Regions from separate parts of the Homo sapiens genome. Here all the other regions are linked to region 1. Evidence: promoter capture Hi-C in human tissues and cell types (Jung and others, 2019). All regions are on one chromosome and are shown on one strand. The core of a region is centred on a gene start or on the middle of the fragment in contact, and the rest is flanking DNA. Distances in the headings are between cores, read along the strand shown.

Region 1 (3,969 bases), core at 1,470-3,969:
GCTCTGTGTTTGGCACTGCCTGCCAGGCTGGGGTCCAGCTGGACACCCTCCTAGTGTCTGTGCCCTGTCCCATGCCTCTCACCTCCAGAAGCTGGATGGTCCCGGTCAGGTTAACTCTGTAATAATCCAGAGGCTTCTGCACCGACTCGCCCACGGCCTTGAGCCCCGCAAAGTGGATGACCGCCATAAAGCTGTACTGCAGGGGTGACATGGCCAGAGGTTGCTCTACTGGTTTTAGTCCTTGGCAATGCCCTCAGCCTGCCTGCCTGCACTCACCTTTTTTTTTTTTTTTGACAGTCTCGCTCTGTTGTCCAGGCTGGAGTACAGTGGTGCCATCTCAGCTCACCGCAACCTCCACCTCCCAGGCTCAAGCCATCCTCCCATGCCAGCCTCCCGAGTAGCTGGGACCACAGGTATGGGCTACCATGCCCAGCTAATTTTTGTATTTTTCTGTAGAGATGGGGTTTCACTGTGTTGAGCAGGCTGGTCTTGAACACCTGGGCTCAAGTGATCTCCTCACCTCGGCCTTCCAAAGTGCTGGAATTACAGGCGTGAGCCACCGTGCCCAGCCTGCACCCACCTTTTTGAAGAGACGCTGTAGGGCTCCCTGGTCCAAAATGTCCATCTCCTCAAACTCCACAGAGCGGCCTGTCAGCTCCTGGACCCGCCGCAGGCTCTCAGGCAGGGAGCCCCCTCCTGGTAGGGTACATGTAGGCCACATCATCACGACATGGGGTGCTGTGTTCCCAGGGACTAGCCAGACACACATTCCCCGCCCGGTGGTGGAGGTGGAACCCAGGGTTTTGCTTCTGCCATCCCCTCAAGTAGCCCCAGCCCCACTGCCCCGCTCACCACGGAAGGCATTATGGAAGTTATCGATGACCACAGGCAAGTAGCCAGCCTCCAGCAGCTCCAGCACCGTGTGGCTGCCAATGTAGCCAGCCCCACCTGTTACCAGCACCTTCTCTGCCATGGCACCTGGCCCAGGATACAGAGTCTCAGAGGTGGCTGAGGCTGCCTGCTCAGAGCTTCCTTCCCACTGGAATCCTGCCCCCTAAGCTCGCTTTGGAAGGAGGCGGCAGTGTGCCCTAGGTACCAGACTGGCTCAGAAGTCAGCCCTGGGGCAAGTCTGGGTACCATCACTTTCTGGCCTTAGGCTTTGGAAATTAATTAGCCTCTTGGCCTCAGTTTCTATCTCTGTAAAACAGAGCTAATAATTGTATAAACTTCATGAGGCAGCGTGAGGGTTCAGTGAGGTGATCTTAAGGGCCCGCCACAGCAGAGCTGGGGAGACCTGACACACAGGCACCTTATTTTCTAGTTCCACTTGCCTTGGAGTTGGAAAAGATGGAATCTGAGGATCCACACTTCTTTGTCCAAGGTGACTGAGGACTGGAGAGTCCTGGGCAGAAGGAAAATGGCAGCACGATTGGGACTCCAGGGTCGCAGGAAGGGGTTCTGTCTGCTCAGACCCAGGCTTGTCCAATGCCTCCGCCTTCGCTAGGTGTAAACTGGCTCCTGGGCGCAGTGACTAATACCTCCTGCTCTAGGCGGCCCCCACCCCCTTTCCCTCAAGGGTCAGCTGGGAGGAAGCAGGAAATAGATCACATGGCCTCAAGGGTGAGGTCCTTTGCCAGGCAGGCTGAGGCCAGCTCAGGGGCAACCACACCGTGGTTGGTCCTGGAGGGGGCCCCACCCCAACCCCCGCTCAGCCTCTGCCCATGCCAGGGCCAGCCCGGTCACTCCTGGCTCAGAGTTAGGAATCCCGCCCAACTTAGGCTACTCTGGGTGGGCCGTGTAGACGTGGACTTGGCCAGGTGCGCACCTCCACCCTGAACAAACTCTGCGGGTAGTACGGGGAGGAAGCCCCAGACACTGAGGCCTTTCATTCCCAGCGACCGGGCCCGCTGCCGCCTTCCTCCACGCTGCCTCTATCCCCTTCTGGGCTCACGCAGCTCCAACCCACTTGACCAAGAGCCCTCTGCGTGCCAGGCTCCGTACCAGGCACTTTTGCATGATTTTCCTGAATTCCCCCAGCATCTCGGTGAGACAGGTGTTATCACTGGCACTTTACAGATACAGATACTAGGGCCAGAGAGGTGAAACAGTTGCCCTTCGGTCCCACAGCTGGCGACAGCGGGCTGGAATCTGGATCGCCAGGCTCGCAGCCCGGCCCTCTCCCCAGGCGGCTCGCCCTTCCCCCACCGCTGCCCGCTGGACTCTGCCCGCCGCGCCGAAGCCGCCCCCGCCCCCGCCCCGCGCCTGGCGCGGACCCCGAAAGTGGTCGCAGAGAGGCCCTGGGAAGCACGAAAGCTGGTCTGAGGCCGGCTGCGCCCCCGACAGCGGAGTGACCTTGCTCAGCCGTCGCCCACTCGGTTTTCCCAGTCTGTCTGTTGGAGGGAAGGGGAGCTAGGCCGTGGGCATACGAGGGCGGCTGGGTCTCAGGCTGGGCTTTGGGCTGTAGCGCGGAGCGGGGCCGAGCTAGGAGTCCTCAGGCCGGCAATGAATGAACCCCGGCCGCCCCAGCCCGGGCAGCGGGGAACTGGGACAAAGGGGGCGGGCCTGCCCTGGAGGGACGCTGCCAGGAACACGACCCGCCCCTCGGAAACTCCCTCGCTCCCCGCGGACTCCCCGGCCCCTCGCGAGCCCACCCGGCCCTTCATTCCGTCTCCCGAACCTGCTCGGGTTCCCGCGCCCCACGCTTGCTGCAGAGGCACCGCCTCCTACGCCCGAGCCGCGGGCCCTTTAAGTGCTGACGGCCCACTCCGGCCCCGACCCCGCCCCTCCACGCCCCCAAGGAAACATGTCACTCGGGTTACGGCCACTACGGGGAGGGCGGGAGGACAAAAGGCCTCCGCGCTGTGACGAAGACTGCGCAGCGCGCGCCCGCGGAAGGCGGAAGTGGGCGGTGCCACCCCGCGAGAGGCGCCGCCGGCGCCAGGTCCCAGTAGCGGGTGGGTCCTTGCCGGTGCCCCGGGTCCCCGCGCTAGCTCGTCCCAACCCCTGGAAGAGGGCTGCGCTTCCGAGGGGGCAGGGGGCAGAGGGTAGGGGGCCCACGCCTCCGCCCCACTCTGACCCGCAGGTTTTCAGACTTGCCGGTGTGTGCCAAACCATGAATTCAAAATCTTGAACTACCCGATCCCACGGGACTAAGGCAGGAGGGGGTCGCAGGGGGCCTGGTGCTGGAAGTCCAGTTTGCAAATAAACCAAGGAGCTGGAGGAAGCTGTCAGGCCACACTAGCGGTTCCAGCGCTCTTGGCTCTCAGCCCCCACCTGCCGGGAAGGGTCGGTCTGCACTCTGCCTTCCACGACGGCAGGTTAGAAAATGATTGTTTGTTTACAATGAAAAGTAGTAGAGCTAGAGAATAATATGCACAAAATGTGACATCCTGCGTGATGAAACCAGAGCAAAGGAGCCCTAAATGCAGGAGCGCACAGGTGTCCGCGCAGCCGGGAATCAGCCAGCGCCTGCCCGCAGAGTCCAGGGAACCGACAGGTGAGCGCTCCCGGGCCCGGGAGCGCCAGGGAGAGGCCGGGCCACCGAGGCCCAAAGCAGCAAGTGTGTCCTCAGGGGAGCTTGTGCAATAGCCCCAGTCACAGAGGCAAAGCTCAGAAACAACCCCGTCGGGTGTTCTGGCCAGCAACTGCCGCAAGCAGCCTCCTGAGTAAGCCCAAAACCACTGATTTCCAGTCACTATGGATTTGGGGCTCAGGTGGGGAAACAGGGAGGAAATCCAAAGATTAATAAACTAGTTCATAGTCTCCATTTTCCTCTCAGAGTGCAACATGGTAAAGTATTTTACTCCCCCACGCGCATGTATACACACAGCTGCACAACCGAATGCTGGAATTATGATGTGCCATTCAACCTTTAATTACATAAGCTGTTTTCAAAAATCACATTCAGCGTGGAGATTTTCCAGAGATGCTGGAGTTGGCAGACGGCCACCACGTAGCTCTCCACTTTCC
Region 2 (3,969 bases), core at 967-3,466, 840 kb after region 1:
GCATCTGTTTCTATTCTTCAGTCATTTTCATCTGAGCTATTGGTTGGATTCCACAGCTTCCTTGGTAAATTTAAGCTTATACATTTTTTACACATTTTTGAAGTACTTTAGGAAGACTGTTAATCCTGTTGTATCCAGGAAACACAAAAGCAGAAGTGGAAGGAAGAGGCAAACGATGGAAACAAAAGTGAAGATGATAACAAAAATAAGAAAAGTATAAAACCTGCCCCAGCCTATGGAATAAATGTTCGGTAGGAGGGATTCTGAAGAACACAGGGAACAAGCAACAGGTGAAACTCCTAAACCATCAACATCAATCACCAAGCAATGAGGAAAAGCTGTTGATGAAATGGAAAAATCTGAGTCTGTGCCTTGACGATCGGCACCAAGGTTGGATGCCTATTAGCTTTCTGAGGCTCAGAGTTTGAGGATTCAAAGAGCAGACCCAGCAAAAGAGCCATGGTAGGTTCACTAGGAGTGGCTTCTCGGCATTAAGACCTATTTTGGTTGTTTGTTTTTTTGTTTTTGTTTTTTGAGACAGGGTCTCAATCTGTCGCCCAGACTGGAGTACAGTGTCGCGATCTTGGCTCACCGTAACCTCCCACTTCCAGGCTCTAGAGATTCTCCCGCCTCAGCCTCCCAAGTAGCTGGGATTACAGGCGTGTGCCACCACTGCCCGACTAATTTTTGTATTTTTTAGTACAGACGGGGTTTCACCATGTTGGCCAGGCTGGTCTTGAACTCCTGACCTCAAATGATCCACCCGCCCCAGCCTCCCAAAGTGCTGGGATTACAGGCGTGAGCCACCGTGCCCAGCCAACACCTATTTTGATCTGCCCAGCATCAAAGTGAGCAACAGGTGGTGTCTGCAAAAACTTTCACTGCCAAGTAGTTATCCACTGCATCTGCAGGGATCATCAGGTAGGCAGCTCATCGGCCTCAGCAGATTTTCCGGTATAGACTCTTACTGATAGAATCAGTGGTTGCAACATTTTAACCAACAGACACTCATTGATAGAAATACTTTTGGAAATTGAGTCTTAGACTCTTTTTTAAAAATAGAGGTGGGGCAGTGGGGTTGGGGGTATCTCACTATGTTGTCCAGGCTGGTCTCAAACCCTTGGCCTGGAGCAATCCTCCCGCCTTGGCCTCCCAAAGTCCTGGGATTACAGGCATGAACCATGATGCCCAGCCTTAGACTCTCATTCATATACTCATTTCGACAAATGTTTATTGAGCTCCAAGGATGGGCAAATCCACACCCACATAGAGCTTTTTTATTTAAAAAAAAAAAAGGAAGAAGATAGTAAACATATAAACAAAATAGATAATAATCCCAGGAAATGTTAAGTGTTATTTAAAAAAAAATAAGGGGCTGGGCACGGTGGCTCATGCCTGTAATCCCAGCACTTTTTGAGAGCCTGAGGCGGGTAGATCACGAGGTCAGGAGATCAAGACCAACCTGGCTAACACGGTGATACCCTGTCTCTACTAAAAATACAAAAAATTAGCCAGGCGTGGTGGTGCATGCCTGTAGTCCCAGCTATTCAAGAGGCTGAGGTAGGAGAATCACTTGAACCTGGGAGGCGGAGGTTGCAGTGAGCCGAGATCGGGCCACTGCACTCCAGCCTGGGAGATGGCAAGACTCTGTCTCAAAAAAAATAAATAAATAAATAAATAAAAAATAGGACTGGGCATAGTGGTGCGTGCTTGTAATCCCAGCATTTTGGGAGGATGAGGCAGGTAGATTGCTTGAGCTCAGGATTTTGAGACCAGCCTGGGCAACACGGTGAAGCTTCATCTCGAAAAGAAAAAAATACAAAAATTAACTAGGCGTGGTGGTGTGAGCCTGTAGTCCCAGCTATTCAGAAGGCTAAGGTGGCAGCATCACTTGAGCCCAGAAAGTGGAGGCTGCAGTGAGCCAAGATCACACCAATGAGCCAAGATCACACCAATGCACTCCAGCCTGGGTGACGCAGTGAGATCCTGTCTCCAAAAAAAAAAAAAAAAGAAAGAAAGAAAAGAAAAATAGGCCAGGCATGGTGGCTCACGACTATAACCCCAGCACTTTCGGAGGCTGAGGTGGAAGGCTCACTTGAGCCCAGGAGTTTATGACCAGCCTGGGCAATACAATAAAGCCCCCGTCTCTAAAAAATAATTTAAAAATTAGCTGGGTGTGGTGGCACACACCTGTAGTCCCAGCTACTCAGGGTGCTGAAGCAGGAAGATTGCTTGAGCTGGGGAAATTAAGGAGGCTGCAATGAGCTGTGATTGCATCACTGCACTCCAGCTTGGGTTACAGAGTGACCCTCTCTCCAAAAGAAAAGAAAGAAAAAGGTAAGACAGAGTGAGGGGATTGAGGGTGTCCTTTTTGGAAGGTTGTTCAGAAAAGGCTTGATGAAGAGGTGCCATTTGAATCATCTCTTAGTCATTTTAGGCTTACCAATATATAGACAAATAAATTGCCATTCGAAATCTAAATCTGTTCATAATCAGACAAGCATCTGTAGTTTATTGTGGCTGCAACTTAGAAGTAACGGATGAGGAGAGGGAGGCATAAGCTATTAAGAGAGGTGAAAAGGCAAGAGTTGGTTGTAGAGTGTGAGGAAGAGAGAAGAATCATGATAGAAAGAAAGGTGGGCTCATTCATTGAGAATGGGAAACCAGAAGGTTGAAGGCAAGTGGATGAAGATGAATTCAGTTTAGGGTATGTTGAGTGTGAGGTGCCTATGGGACATCCAAGTGAATAGGTGAGCAGGAAGTTGAAAATATAGGTCTGGAGCAGGCCTGTGCCTGAGATACACAGGTTTGAAATATGAAAGGTAATCAAAACCGAGAGGTCAGAGAGGGCACCTTTGTTGAGGGAAAAAGTAGTCAATGACAGAACTACCAGAAAAAACAACATTTATAGGATTGACAGCAAACAGACAGAGACAGTGAAGGAAGCCCAAAACAGAATGACTAATCAGAACCATAGAGAATAGTCAGGGAGATGTGGGGTGTTGTGATTTCATAGTTCCCATCTGGTCAAGTGGCTTGTTCTGTGGAGGCCTGTCACTTCCCTGTCTTTGGCCGTCTGACAAAGCCTTCATTCACTGAACAAATGTTTATTGAACCCATGCCATGTGTCACTTTTCTAGTGACACATGAATGAACAAAACAGTAAGCCCTGACTTTAGGGCACTTACATTCTAGTGTGGGGAACAGACAATAAACAAACATTAAAAACAGGTTAAACGGCCGGGCGCAGTGGCTCACACCTGTAATCCCAGCACTTTGGGAGGCCAAGGCAGGTATCCCTTGAGCTCATGAGTTCGAGACCAGCCTGGGCAACATGGCAAAACCCCATCTCTACAAAAAATACAAAAATTAGCTGGGAATGGTAGTGCGGGCCTGTAGTCCCAGCTACTCCAGAGGTTGAGGTGGGAGGATGGCTTAAAGCCAGGAGGCGGAGGCTGCAGTGAGCCAAGATCACGTGACTGCACTCCAGCCTGGGTGACAGAGCCAGGCCTTGCCTCAAAAAAAAAAAAAAAAAAAAAAAACAGGTTAAATGCATATTAGGTGATAAAAGCTATGAAAAAAAAAAAAAGAGTAACGGGCATCAGGATGTAGAGAGGATATCCGAGCAACTTCCAACAAGGCAGTCAGGTTAGGCTTCAGTGAGTGACCATCGAGTAAAAACTTTAAAGTAAAAACTTTGCCCAGGCCGGGCACGGTGGCTCACGCCTATAATCCCAGCACTTTAGGAGGCCAAGGCAGGTGGATCACGAGGTCAGGAGTCCCAGACCAGCCTGGCTAACATGGTGAAACCCCATCTCCACTAAAGATAAAAAAAGTAGCCGGACTTGGTGGCGGGCGTCTGTAATCCCAGCTCCCAATTTGGGAGGCTGAGGCAGGAGAATTCCTTGAAACTGAGAGGTGGAGGTTGCAGTGAGCCGAGATCCTGCCACTGCACTCCAACCTGGGCAG
Region 3 (3,969 bases), core at 956-3,455, 610 kb after region 1:
ATTCAAATTCATAATGTTGTGCAACCCTCACCACTATCCGTCTCTGTAAATCTTTTCATTGTGAAAAACTGAAATGCTATACCCATTAACCAATATGGTACTTCCCCAGTATTTCCTACAATATGGTGTTTCCTCAGTATTTCCCCATTCCTTTTTCCCTGCAATCCCTGGCAACCACCATTGTACTTTCTATTTCTATTACTTTGACTATTCTATGTGCCTCTCAGCAATTTTATTTTCATGGTACCTTGGCATAATTTTCTTTATGTCTTTAATATTTGGGTTTTAATGAACTTCTTTAATCTGTAGGCTACAGTTTTCACCAAATTTGGAAAATATTCAGCCATTATTTTTTCAAATAGTTTTTCTGCCTCTGCCACCTTCTTTCCTGGGGCTACAGTTATATTAGATCATTTCATATTTTCCCAAAGGTTATTGATATTCTGTTCAATATTTTTAAGTCTCTTTTCTCTCTGTCCTTCATTTGGGTAGTCTATATTGTCATGTCTTCAAGTTCACTGATTTTTTTTTTTTTTTTTTGACGGAGTCCCGCTCTGTCACCCAGGCTGGATTGCAGTGGCGCAATCTCGGCTCACTGCACCCTCTGCCCCCAGCTTCAAGCAATTCTCTGTGTCAGCCTCCCGAGTAGCTGGGTACAGGTGCCTGCCACCATGCCTGGCTAATTTTTGTATTTTTAGTAGACACGGGGTTTCACCATCTTGGCCAGGCTGGTCTTGAACTCTTGACCTTGTGATCTACCTGCCTTGGCCTCCCAAAGTGCTGGGATTACAGGCATGAGCCACCATGCCCGGCCAAGTTCACTGATCTTCTGAAGTCTCATCAGCTGCAAATCCCATCCATTGCATTCTTATTTCAAATATTGTATTTTTTCTTTCTAGAGGTTACATTTGGGCTCTTTTTCTATGTCTTCTATTTCTAGCCTCATCATGTTCAGTTTCCTTTACATCCTTAGGAATATTTGTAAGATTCATAGTAGCTGCTTTAAGGTTTCTTTGTACTAATTCTATAATCTGTCATTTTTAAGTCTGTTCCTATTGGTTGATTTTCCTCTCAGATATGGGTCATATTTTCCTTTTCATGTCTGGTAATTTTGTATTAGATATTGGACATTTTGAATTTTACATTGCTGGGTGCTGGGTTTTGATATATTCCTGCAAAGGATGTGGCACACTTTTCAGTAACTTGTAGATCCATCTGACCCTTTCAAGCTTTTAAACTTTGTTATGGCAAGTCCAGAGCAGCTTTTATTCTGGGAATAATTTATCCCCACTACTAAGGCATGACATTTCTGTGAACTCTACCCAATTCCTATCTAATACCATGTCTCTGCATTCTGGTTTATGGTAACATGCAACATTCCCAGTTCTGTTTAAGCCCCAGAAATTGTTCAGCCTATGGCCTTTTGATGGGTATTTCCCCAGTCTTAGTTTCTTCTCATGCATGTGCAGATTACTGCTCAGCCAAAAACTTAAGGAGACCTCTCTTCAGGTTTCTGAACATTTTTGGTGCAGCTCCTTCCTTTAGGGTTCTCCCTATAAATTCTAGCCTCTTTGGCCTCTCTGAATTCTTATTTTTATCTTCTCAACTCAGAAATCTAGAATTCATTTGGATTTCCTACAATATGGCCTAAAAACTGACCCCAGTACTAAATGGGGGCAATTGTAGGACTCACCGTGTTTTTCTTCCTTCAGGGATTATTGTACTGTGCCTGTTGTCCAATGTGAGTTGTTTAACACATTTAACTACTTTTTAGTTGTTAATAGCAAGGGCACAATTTAATTTCCATAGCAATTATTTTTTATTAGCAGACTTGGGTTTCATTTTGCCCATTTTTTTCCCTAAGGAACTTATACCATTTATATATACTAATGAGTAAAGGATTGAATAAATGATTTTACACTCTACTGGTCCTTTTCCATGCAGTATTTTTCCTTACTTTATTCTGTAATCCTCACAGCAGCAATTTTCAACTTTTTTTTGGTGGACAATCTATACTAAAAATTTGATATTTAATAGAATTATTGACAACATTCTTCAAGAAATTAAGAGATTCAAAATAACAGAAACAAATCAATAATGATCAAAGCACAATCACCAATCCAGCTTAACAAGGTCTTTTAGTATCTATAAAAGCAGCCCCTAGGGCTGGGTGTGGTGGGTCACTCCTGTAATCCCAGCACTTTGGGAGGCCGAGGTTAGGCGATAGCTTGAGCTCATGACCAGCCTGGGAAACATGGTGAAAGTCCGTCTCTACAAAAAATATAAAAATTAACCAGGCATGGTGGCATGTGCCTGTAGTCCCAGCTACCTTAGGGGCTGGGGCAGGAGGATCACTTGAGCCCAAGAGGTCAAGGCTGCAGTAAGCTATGTTCGTGCCACTGTTCTTCAGCCTGGGTGACAAAGTGAGACCCTGTCTCAAAAAATAACCAAAGCAGCCACTATTCATTTACCACCCCTCAGTGTTATACCATTTTAGTAAGAACCATCTACTGCCCTAGCTTTAATAAAGCTGTTATTAAAAAATGTATTAGTGTTCTGGAATTATGAGTGATTAGAAAAATATTAAGCTTCCTGTTTTACAGTAGTCCACCCTTGTCTGTAGCTTTATTTTCCAGTTTCAGTTACCCATGGTCAATTGTGGTTTGAAAATATTAAATGGAAAATTCCAGAAATAAATAATTCATCAGCTTTAAATTATGCACCATTCTGAGGCATGTGATGAAATCTCCTATCGTCTGACTCCACCCTACCTGGGATGTGAATCATCCTTGTCCAGCACATTCAAGCTGTATTTGCTACCCCACCATTAGTCACTTAGTAGCCATCTCGATTGTCAGATCCACCATCACGTTGTCTCAGTGCTTGTGTTCAAGTAACTCTTACTTTACTTAATAATGGCCCCAAAGCACAAGAGTAGTGATGCCAGCACTTTGGACATGCCAAAGACAAGCTGTAAAGTGCCTCCTTTATGTGAAAAGGTGAAAGTTCTTGACTTAATAAGGCAAGAAAAAAACTGTATTCTGAGGTTGCTAAGATCTACAGTAAGAATAAAACTTCTATCCATCAAATTTCAAAGGGGAAAAAAATTGGTGCTAGTTTTGGTGCTTCACCTCAAACTATAAAAAGCTGTTGCCACAGAGCATGATAAGTGCTTAGTTAAGATGGAAAAAGCATTAAATTTGTGAGTGGAAGATATGAACAGAAACAGTCTGATTGACAGTAATCAGTTTGGGTATTATCCACTGTTTCACTGGCATCTACTGGTGGTCTTGGAACATATCCCCCTTGAATAAGGGAGGACTACTATAATAATAATGTATGTACACTGTCAACATTTAAGAAAATATGATAAATTACAAAAAAACTTTAAACAATCTGCAATCCATGGCCGAGCGCTGTGGCTCACACCTGTAATCCCAGCACTTTGCGAGGCCGAGGTGGGCGGATCATGAGGTCAGGAGATCCAGACCATCCTGGCTAACACAGTGAAACCCCATGTCTACTAAAAATACAAAAATTAGCTGGACATGGTGGCGTGCACCTGTAGTCCCAGCTACTCAGGAGACTGATGCAGGAGAATCGCTTGAACCCAGGAGGTGAAGATTGCAGTGAGCCAAGATCGCGCCACCGCACTCCAGCCTGGGCAACAGAGCGAGACTCCGTCTCAAAACAAACAAACAAACAAATAAAAAACAATCCCCAATCCTACCACCAAAAGACCACACTGTTAATAATGCTTTCCAGTCTTCTCACTGCATACCTGTGAAGGCAGGATGAGAGCAGGTGCAGGACAGATGTGAACAGAGCACTGCCCAGGTGTGCCTCACTGGTCCACCTGTATAACTGTCCATGACAGGATGGCATGGACCTAGAATCTAAGAAAGAGCAGTGAAGATATACCACTTTCCGAATCAACAACATATGTTTAAGCGATTCCTACGTGGGGGC

What was found. Contacts are between HindIII fragments. The study calls those that stand out against the background at their distance.
Region 2: a fragment that was not itself captured here is called in contact with the fragment with the promoter of GALE in region 1 in 1 of the 25 tissues and cell types used here (aorta).
Region 3: a fragment that was not itself captured here is called in contact with the fragment with the promoter of GALE in region 1 in 1 of the 25 tissues and cell types used here (liver).

Annotation. Positions count from the first base shown.
Region 1 is chr1:23,798,035-23,802,003 of GRCh38, forward strand. GALE (UDP-galactose-4-epimerase) reads right to left here and starts at 2,720. Exons shown (of 12, transcript NM_001008216.2): 1 at 2,678-2,720; 2 at 1,332-1,402; 3 at 853-978; 4 at 581-696; 5 at 83-196. The coding sequence starts at 973. It overlaps HMGCL (3-hydroxy-3-methylglutaryl-CoA lyase), which reads right to left. Exons shown (of 9, transcript NM_000191.3): 9 at 3,851-3,969. RefSeq lists silencers at 2,131-2,230, 2,281-2,760, 2,921-3,130. The HindIII fragment of the contact is 13,480 bases long and covers 1-3,969 here.
Region 2 is chr1:24,637,002-24,640,970 of GRCh38, forward strand. No RefSeq gene overlaps it. Among named protein-coding and RNA genes, the nearest start is that of SRRM1, 4.3 kb to the right of the region's middle. The HindIII fragment of the contact is 5,786 bases long and covers 1-3,969 here.
Region 3 is chr1:24,406,922-24,410,890 of GRCh38, forward strand. The region is part of intron 1 of STPG1 (sperm tail PG-rich repeat containing 1); the gene reads right to left. Among named protein-coding and RNA genes, the nearest start is that of STPG1, 4.9 kb to the right of the region's middle. The HindIII fragment of the contact is 5,786 bases long and covers 1-3,969 here.